Regions from separate parts of the Homo sapiens genome. Here region 1 is linked to region 2. The links are contacts of gene promoters, found by promoter capture Hi-C in blood cells and fetal thymus (Javierre and others, 2016). All regions are on one chromosome and are shown on one strand. The core of a region is centred on a gene start or on the middle of the fragment in contact, and the rest is flanking DNA. Distances in the headings are between cores, read along the strand shown. Region 1 overlaps MAPRE3 (microtubule associated protein RP/EB family member 3). Region 2 holds the start of TCF23 (transcription factor 23).

Region 1 (5,102 bases), core at 903-3,402, 170 kb before region 2:
GGTTTTTCTTGTGCACAGAGTTGACTGGCCAATACTAGCATAAGCCTAGATCTTGCACTCACTAGCACCATGCCCTACCAGCTTTGCTAAACTGACCAGATGTTGTTAGTCAACTTTTTAGCATAACGTCAGTGTTTTAGGCTCTGGATGCTTCATTTGCCTCAAGTAAATAAGGACTTGTCCTATCTAAAATGCTTTAACTCCATGCAAAATGATTTTTTCCCTGAAACTATTTCCTAGATATAGGAGATACATACCACTTGTGTGATACATTTAAAATAACTGAGCAAGAAGCATGGCTTCAAATCTGCCTTGTAGCTTGACTATATATAAAAAAGCTTAAAAGGATGTATATCCTTAGACCAGAAAGTGCCATTCTAGCAATATTTAGAAAATCAGAGGTGTGTACAGAAATAATTGTAAAAGATTTATTAATGCAACATTACTAGTAATATCAAACATTGAAAACAACCAAAAGTGCCAGCAACTGAGGATTGGTCAGGCTCGCCCAAATAAAATACTGCATGGCATTAAAAACATTTGGAGAAGAATATTAATACCAGAACTTTTAATATCAGTGAAAAAAGCAGGATGAAAAATAGTATGCCAAGGAAAAAACCATATTTATAAAGAAAAACATGAAAAAGATACTAGAAGAGCATGTGCCAAGTCATAAGTGATTGAGTAATGGGATTAAAAACGAATGGCTTTCCTTAGTGCTTGTTGGTGTTTTCTAAGCTTTTCTGCATTAAGCAACTATAACTTAATTATGACATTTTAAAACCAGTGACTTCTAGATTCCATGTAGTAGAGCAATCTTTAGAGTCTTCTTTGCCTCTTCCTTTTACTGTTTACATGTATCGGAAGGTTTTAGTAAAACCTTGTATACCACAGGGCTCTGTTTTGGGTGGCCTTCTTTTCCCAGGTGTCTTTTCAGATTCTCTGTATTCCCAGTTCTCCAGTGTTCCAGGGGCCTTTTTTGAGGGTTTTGCTCATTTTTTGGTGTGGATGTGCACCTGTCTGAATTGTCTGTTTCAAAAGACTCTGCCCAGGCCCACTACAGTTGCCTTCCTCCCTTTGCCCTTTGTCACCTTCCGTTCAGCCATGAGCTCAGAGGCCCTTTTTCCTTCCAGGGATAGAGAGGGTTGGGTGCCCACCTGTGGCCACCCGATGGGCAGAGCCCTATGTAGACATAGGCTAGGCCACTCCCCCTGTGCCACACCAGGTCCATGGAGCTGCTGACTGTGTTGGTAGGGCCTGGCCGGGCAGCTGTCCTCTGGCCTCATCTTTCCCATCCACACACACACACTGTACATTGCCTAGATGGCCCAGTCCAGTGGACTGATACCTGCCTTCAACCAGTGGTGGAGTCTGCCCAGCTCTGAGCACTGAGAAAGGGGCACTTTGGCCTCCTCCTGAGGATCCGGGACTTCGAGTTGAAGAACATATGGCCTGTCACATAGCTCGAACTGTGCTGTGATAAATGTTTGCTAAGCAGGATCTGCCTCTTCCTCCAAATGGTCTGGCTACCCAAATACTTGTCCTAGATGGGGTGGAGGCCTTCCCTGCTGCTGGAATTATTAGTGAGCAAGTCTTTGGGTATGGCTGGCTGGAGAGACTCCACCACTCGGAGAGAGTGATTGTGGGAGAAACAGTCATCTTATCTTGAGGGCATTGTGGTCCTGGTCACCTTGTAATTTATATGGTGTTCTCTGACTGGTAAGAAATGAAATCTTAACTGCTTCTGAGTCAGCAAGATCATAGTTGGGTCTAAGGTGTGTGTTGCCATGTGAAAGGGGCAGGTCTTAGACCACTAGATGAAATTAGATACCTTTCCCATGTGAGGAGTGTTTCACGCAGGCTTATCTCCAGTGGCATAATGTGTGCTGTGTAGCCAGGCCTTTCCGCAGCACCAGACTCTTGGCAGCCAGCCACCCTCCACCCCCACCCGCTTCCCTGAAGGTTATTGACACTTACCTGGGACTCTGATTTGGTCCTTGATTTGTTCTGATTTTAGATGCTTAGAGCTCATAGCTGAAAGCTCTCAGTTTAGGCATCCTATTAACACTCTTAAGTGACAGGATCACTGCTAAGTACAGAGATGTGTTATGCTGGCCCCAAAATAGCAAGGTACAGTGTCTTGAGACAACTTGATAAGACTTCTATTACCCCAAAAGTATAGTTCCCAGGTTTACAGATTATTCATATAAATTTGCATATCATCTTCACAAGACATGTAAGCATGCTCTCAGCACGTATTCTTCATCAAGCCCTTTCTCTGTTTTGTATTGTTAGTCACTATGGGATATAAAGGAAATGAGACTCAACCCTTGTCCATGAGGAGGCTGTAATGTGTGTGGAAGACAAGATGGATATATGGAATGATTAGTGCATATGACAATATTGCATGTCAGAAACACATCTTTGGTGCCTTATTCTATAAGACACAGTGTCAGCCCTTAAGGAATTCAGCTAATATTCTGGCAAAAGAGTTGGACACAAAACTGTATGTCACTGTAACATGAGGGGATGGAACCTTATCAGCTATGGGAAAGGGTGCTTTGGTAAGCCAGAAGGAAGAGTCACCCTGAGCCTGTGAGAACCAGAAAGACTTCAGAGATGAAGACACACTGGAGCTGGGTGTGCAGGTTGATGTGGAGACTCATCAGAGGACAGCTGAGGAAGAGAGGCAAAAGAAATGAAAAGAACAGTGCATTGGGTGTCACTGGTACTACAGAGTCTAAATTCCAAAAGGATGCTGAGAGGAAAATAATCATTGTGAACTGGAGTAATCAGAAAAGACTTCAGTCTAGGTGCAATGGCTCACGCCTGTCATACCAACACTTTGGGAGGCCAAGGGGGGAGGATCACTTGAGGCCAGGAGTTCAAGACCAGCCTCAGCAACATAGCGAGACCCCATCTACAAAAATTGTTTTTAAATTAGCCGGGCATGGTGGCATATACCTATAGTCCCAGCTACTAGGGAAGCCAAGGCAGGAGGATGGCTTGAGCCCAGGAGTTTGAGGCTGCAGTGAACTATGATCATGCCATTGCACTCCAGCCTGGGTGGCAGAGTAAGGGCCAATCTCTATTAAAAAAAGACAAGACTTCACAAAGGAAGCAGAACCTGACCTTGTCTCAAGGATGAGCAGGCTGTGAGTTGACAGAACACCAGAGAGGGCTTTTCAGGAGGCAAGGTACAGCATCAGCAAAGGAATGGCCGTGGGAAGGGGTGTGGTGGGGTTTGTAGGCAGGGCAGCCTTACCAGACTGAGGATGTGTGCTGGTTTTGAGTTTGGAGAATATTGGTGACATTAACCAGAAATTAGGAAGTTTGAAGAGACAGTTTGGAAAGGAGTTGCTTTTTAGACACAGAGAGCTAAAAACAACGTGACTGTGGGTTGCAGGACATCCAAGTTGAGTGATCTCATAGAACCGGAAGCTGAGGGTCAGGTTGTGGATGGAGCTGTAGAGTGGGAGTCAGCAGCACAGAGGAGGGCTGGATTCCCTCAAAGGAATCTCTCCAGAGGTCTTGCATGCAGAGTACAAAGACCAGAGCCCCAAGTAATAAGCTTTGAGAACTGTCCATAGTTAGGAAAAAAGGAACAAGATGGTGGGAAATTAGGATGATTCAGCAGCAAGGGAAGAGAAAATGTCTGGAAGAGAGTTTCAGTGCTGCTGATTTAACTAGATTTAAGGATTTAACTAGAAGGCAGTCATGATGATTGCTTAGGGTATCCATTCAGTAAAACACTGGAGTGGTTTAAGGGGAAAATTGACAGAGAAAAATAGAAGCAATGGCTGGTCACCAGAGAATGGCAGCAGGGAGGGAAAGAAAGTAGTAACCAGAAGAAGCAATCGAATCAAATATTTTATTTTTGTAAAATAATTCTATTCTTTATCAGCAAACATATAAAATTGTAGTATGTGGTTCTTAAAATATATTTTGTGTATTAAAATGTGCTTCATCTGCAGACTTCTCTATATTGACATAATCCATATATTTGTAACTTCACATATTTCATTCCTTTGGTGGTATCCCATCATATTGATACCAGTATGCTTAACCTCAATCTGTTGTTGGGCAGTTGGAGTATTTTGCAAGTGTAAATATCTCTGATTTGAACATTACTGTACAAGTGACATTTTTTTCTTTTGTGGATTATTTATTCATGGTATATTCCATAAAGTGAATTACAGAGGTGCAAAGGGTACGATTTTTTAAATAAGCTTTTTATACAACGTTCTTCATGGTGATCTAACCAACTTTCAATTAGAGTAAAAGTTTGGTATTGACGAAGAATCATTTTTTATAAGAAGGAGGTCTGAGCATGTTTAATGGCAGAAGGGAAAAGGAGTTATCCAAAGAAAATAGTACACAGACAAGAGAGAAATAAAGCAAAAAGGAATGATCTTTAGGATCCCAGGGAAAGGTTCCTTTGAAGAGAAGAGGGCATGGCTCTTTCTACCCCTGACTTTTAGGGTGAAGTCCAGGATAGATTACTGGGGTTCCTCCTAAGAAAAGACCTTTCTTTCTTTAGTAAAATAGAGCCAAGGCCACTTGCTGAGGTGGGGGAGGGAGAGGGTTGGTGGGGAATTGAGTTCTTGAAGGTCTGAATTACCCACAGTGAGAAATAAGTCTGGGCATATGAGAGATGAATAAAGGTCTTATTGTGAATGCTGCATTGGACCTATGAATTCATAATGGGCTGAGTCTTTAAAGTCCTCTGGCCAGAGAAGCAGCAGTGAGTGGGGACGGGCACCAGGAATGGGTGTTGCTTGGCATGTTCAGGGCAAGGTTTCTGAGGAGTCAAAACTTAAGATGCAGTGAAGTAGCTGGCCCTAAGGCCGGAGGTAGAGGAAGGGCCACAAGTTGAAGACAGGCGCTGGTTGTCAGCCAGAATGAGGAGGCAGAGGAATTACAGGGGCCAGTGGGAACGGAAAACAGGTTTAGAATATGAGGGATGAGCAGTAAGGAGGCCACTGACAGAGGAAGATTTTCATATTAAAATTTGGCAGAGGCTTCTTTTACTTTTGTTCATCTTTGTATAATGTTTACGTTTCTAACACAGACGTGTAACCACTAACATTTCTTAAAGGAAT
Region 2 (4,731 bases), core at 1,612-4,111:
TTCTATAAGTCAGGAATTCTACGGGCAAGAGCAATTTAGCTGGGTGATCTTGGCTCAGGGTCTCTCATGGGTTGCACTCAAACCGACAGCCAGGGCTGCAGTCATCTGGAGGTCCAACTGGAACTGGAGGATCCATTTCTGAGGTGGCTCACTCCCACGGTTGGCAAGTCGTGGTGGCTGTCAGTGAGAGGCCTCAGTTCCTCACAACATGGGCCTCTCCACAGGGCTGCTTGGATATCCTCAAGATAGCAGCTGGCTTCCCCCAGAGTGAGCGATCCAAGAGGGAGCAAGGGGGTAACTGCACTGTTTTTATTTTTTATTTTTTTTTGAGACAGTCTCACTTTGTCGCCCAGGCAGGAGTGCAGTGGCACGATCTCGGCCTACTGCAACCTCTACCTCCTGGGTTCAAGCGACTCCTGCCTCAACCTCCCGAGTATCTGGGACTATAGGCATGCATCACCATACCTGGATAATTTTTGGGGTTTTTTTTGTTGTTGTTTGTTTTTTAAGATGGAGTTTCGCTCTTCTGCCCAGTCTGGAGTGAAGTGGCGTGATCTCAGCTCATTGCAACCTCCGCCCCCGGGTTCAAGCAATTCTTCTGCCTCAGCCTCCCATGTAACTGGGATTATAGGCACCTGCCACCACACCTGGCTAATTTTTGTATTTTTAGTTGAGACAGGGTTTCGCCATGTTGGCCAGGCTAGTTTCGAACTCCTGACCTCAGGTGATCCGCCCACCTCGGCCTCCCAAAGAGCTGGGATTACAGGCGTGAGCCACCGCGCCCGGCCTGATGCACATCTTTTCCATCTCCTTTCTATATGTTCACATAAGCACATAAAACTTTACATTTCTATTTTTTATTTTTTGGTGTATTTTTTTACGTGGCTGGGGTCTTACTATATATATTGATCTACAACTAGCTTTTTTCACAACTGTGTGTTTTGAAGAGTTTTTCATGTCATTTAACAAAGGGCTGTCATTATTTTTATTACTGTACATTATTTCATAGTATGGAGATGCCAAAATTTATTTAACGACTTCCCTACTGATGGACATGCAGGTTGTTTCTACTAACCTACCTACCTTTCTTTCTTTCTTTCTTTGCTTCCTTCCTTCCTTCCTTCCTTCCTTCTTTTTTCAAGACCGTGTCTTGCTCTGTCGCCCAGGCTGGAGTGCAGTGGCACGATCTTGGCTCACTACAAGCTCCACCTCCCAGGTTCACGCCATTGTCCTGCCTCAGCCCCCTGAGTAGCTGGGACCACAGGCACCCACCACCACGCCCGGCTAATTTTTTTGTATTTTTAGTAGAGATGGGGTTTCACCCATCTTAGCCAGGATGGTCTCAGTCTCCTGACCTCGTGATCTGCCCATCTCAGCCTCCCAAAGTGCTGGGATTACAGGTGTGAGCCACTGCACCCGGCCCTTCCTTCCTTCCTTTCCTTTCCTTTTTTTTTTTTTTTTTTTTTTTTTTTTGAGATGGAGTCTCGCTCTGTCGCCCAGGCTGGAGCCCAGGCAATCTCGGCTCACTGCAACCTCTGCCTCCCGGGTTCAAGCAATTCTCCTGCCTCAGCCTCCCGCGTAGCTGGGACTACAGGCACGTGGCACCACACCCAGCTAAATTTTTGTATTTTTAGTAGAGACGGGGTTTCACCAAGTTGGCCAGGATGGTCTCCGTCTCTTGACCTCATGATCTACCTGCCTCTGCCTCCCAAAGTGCTGGGATTACAGGCGTGAGCCACCGCGCCCGGCCTCTTTTTCCCTTTCTCTGTGGTGGGCTGCATATCTTTCTCACTGTACATCCACCTTTTTACTTTCTCCTTACTTATTTGATCTCCCCTGAGGTTCGAGAATGGGGGACAAGGGACATCAGGCTGGATTCTGCTACAGGCAGAGGTCCCTGGAAGACAGCAGGGGCTGCTGTGGCAGATTCGCGATTCCTTCAGCCCGCCTTCTCCTAACTAGCTCTTGGAGGATGTGATGCAACTCAGGAACACCATGGTCCTTGCCTTCAGAGACCTCATGTCTAGCATGGGGACAGACGCGTGAGTAACCCATGGGAGGCAGGCTAGCATCAGGTGAGGGGTAGCCTTCAAAGTCCAACTGACGGCTTGGATTTTCATCCCACCCCACCACTTAACGGATGTTTGACATTGGGCAAGTTATTTCACCTCCCAGTATACCAGTTCCCACACATCTAAACTGAGTCTCTTTTTTTCTTAAAAGGTTGCTCTGAGAAATAAATAAGATGCTTAGCACAGTGCCTGGCACACAGTAATCTATGAATATCGAACTTCTGGGAAAGTAGCCAGGCTGTGATTGTACCAATCAAACAGGGACCCATGGGCTCTGGGCCTGCGGGATTTGAAGTCTTCACGAATGAAAGGCGGAGACCTGAAGGATGGGCAGTACCTCCTGGCAGAGCTGGAGGAAGGTATTCTGGGGCGTGGAAAGGTAAATTTAAACACAGAGTGGAAATCGGAGGCATATTTGGGGCATGGCAAATCGCGCTCTGTGGCTGGAAGGTCACGTTCATTGGCAAGGGGAGGAAAGGCCTTTCAGGGATGTATGCAGGCAGCCTTCTGGCACAGACGAAGGAGGTTCAAGTCCTCTCCATGGACGTGAGCTCCAAAGCGGAAGTCACAGGTCCACCATAGGACCACTGTTGAGGTTAGGCATGGCCGGAAAGGAGCTCCCTTCCCCACTATCCTCCTGCCTTCTTCAGCATGGGCCTCCTCCCAAGGCTTGGCCACTCCCAGCATCCAGCACCCCCACCTCTCAGCTGGGTTAGGAGGCAGGCGGAGGCTTTTCGCGGGGGCTGTGCCTGGTGGGCGGTTTTCCCAGAGCAGGGAGCAAACAGGACTGAGTTGGCGCCAGCTTCCTCGGATGTAGATATTGCTGGCTGGATGACCAGCCACAGCCAGCTAGCTTGAGTCCAAGGCCTCCTCAGGCACTGTGTTTCTGCTCTGTGGGCTGCAGCCCCAGTGGGGTGGCATGTCACAGAGGAAGGCCAGAGGGCCACCAGCCATGCCAGGGGTGGGGCATAGCCAGACTCAGGCCAAAGCACGGTTGCTGCCAGGCGCTGACAGGAAGAGGAGCCGCCTCAGCAGGACAAGGCAGGACCCGTGGGAAGAAAGAAGCTGGAGCAACCAGAGATGGAGCAGAGCTACCCCTGGCCCTCGAGGGACCAGGGCTGGGGGCCTGGCTCTTGGCAGGGTAAGGAAATCCTGCACCTGCAGAGGGGTCCAGGGGAGGAAGGGGTTGGAAGGTGGGGAGATGTCACCTCTGATGGTACAGCCTCACTCAGTATTACCATTCCTGCCCAAGAGAGGGGACACTGGCCCCTTAGACTCCAAGGCATCATGCTTTGGGTAGTTGGGATAGATCAGAGCTGGTCTTAACCAGAGTGCAGCTCAGAGAGCTGCACTAACTCACTTCTCTTGAGGAAACTGAGGCCGGGAAGAGGGATGTGAATTTCCCAAGGTCACTGAGCAGCAGCCAGTGGTAGGACTGGGACTTCAGCCTGTGTGCTTTGACCCCTGGTTCTGTGTCTTTCCTCTTTCCCACAGCAGCCTCGTCGTCTCAGGACCTGGCTAGGTCAAGGGTCCGCCCTCCCAAACAGGGTGTAGCTCTGAACTCCCCCTGGCCCCAGCACACCCTGATAAGCAGGATTCAGATTGGGCATGGGACAGGACAAAGGCTCTGAGGAGGCATGAGTGGAGTAGTAGAGAGAACACAGGACTCTGGGTTCTGAGCCAAGCTCTGCCATCCTGCAGCCATCTGACCCCTGGCCAGGCCTTCCCCCAACTTCCTCAGCTGTGAAACGCGGCAGGGCTGCAGATGACGTAGGTGGGCAGAGGCCCTCTGGTGCCTACTGCTAGACACCCTTCTACTCTGGTGGGAGACCTTGTGCTCAAACGCTCTCAGAAGTCAGGGCAGTTGGGAGTCCAGGTCACACACACTCACTGGGGCCCTCTGTGCAGAGCGAGGCCAGTCCTGAGAATGCCGCGCGGGAGCGGAGCCGGGTCAGGACGCTGCGCCAGGCCTTCTTGGCCTTGCAGGCTGCTCTGCCTGCCGTGCCGCCCGACACCAAGCTCTCCAAGTTGGACGTGCTGGTGCTCGCCGCCAGCTACATAGCCCACCTCACCCGCACACTCGGCCACGAGTTGCCTGGCCCTGCCTGGCCGCCCTTCCTGCGTGGACTCCGCTACTTGCACCCTCTCAAGGTAAGTCACAAGCCCTGGGACTTGAGAGGCGGATCTTAATGCCCAGGGCCTTGGAGAAAGGGATTGGAATGAGGGGGGACATTGGACTTGGGCCCCCTGCCCTGTGCAGAACTGACGTCGGAGCCAATTTCTCCTGCTGTCTCAGAGGGAGAGGAGCCAAGGCTGACCCTTGGGGCTGCGCTGACCCTGGGTTTCTCATGGGAGTGTGGCTGGAAATGGCTTCATGGGAATGCACCTCCTTGAAGAGGAGGGAAAGACTCTGGGGTTCTTAGAGTCACAGGGAAAAATGTAGCAGGTTCCAAGTCTGGGGCCTGGGAAAGGAAATTATACCAAGGAGAGTCCTAGATCCCCATGCAGCTTCAGCCCATTGTGCCTGCCTTGGTGCTTTCTAGGCTTCTGTTGCAAGAGAGGTCTGTCCTCCAGGAGAACAACGGTCTGAGGGACCGTCATTCTAGAAGCAACCAAGCTGGGGGAGTTAGCAGGCAGCAGTACAGGGAAGGCGCGCACC

The links. The method cuts DNA at HindIII sites, captures the fragments that hold promoters and counts their contacts. A CHiCAGO score of 5 or more calls a contact.
Region 1: a fragment that was not itself captured here is called in contact with the fragment with the promoter of TCF23 in region 2 in 1 of 17 cell types (naive B cells); the score reaches 5.2 in naive B cells.

The regions. Positions count from the first base shown.
Region 1 is chr2:26,976,497-26,981,598 of GRCh38, forward strand. The region is part of intron 1 of MAPRE3 (microtubule associated protein RP/EB family member 3); the gene reads left to right. Among named protein-coding and RNA genes, the nearest start is that of MAPRE3, 8.4 kb to the left of the region's middle. The HindIII fragment of the contact is 2,833 bases long and covers 737-3,569 here.
Region 2 is chr2:27,146,143-27,150,873 of GRCh38, forward strand. TCF23 (transcription factor 23) reads left to right here and starts at 2,862. Exons shown (of 3, transcript NM_175769.3): 1 at 2,862-3,213; 2 at 3,981-4,223. The coding sequence starts at 2,992. The HindIII fragment of the contact is 12,568 bases long and covers 1-4,731 here.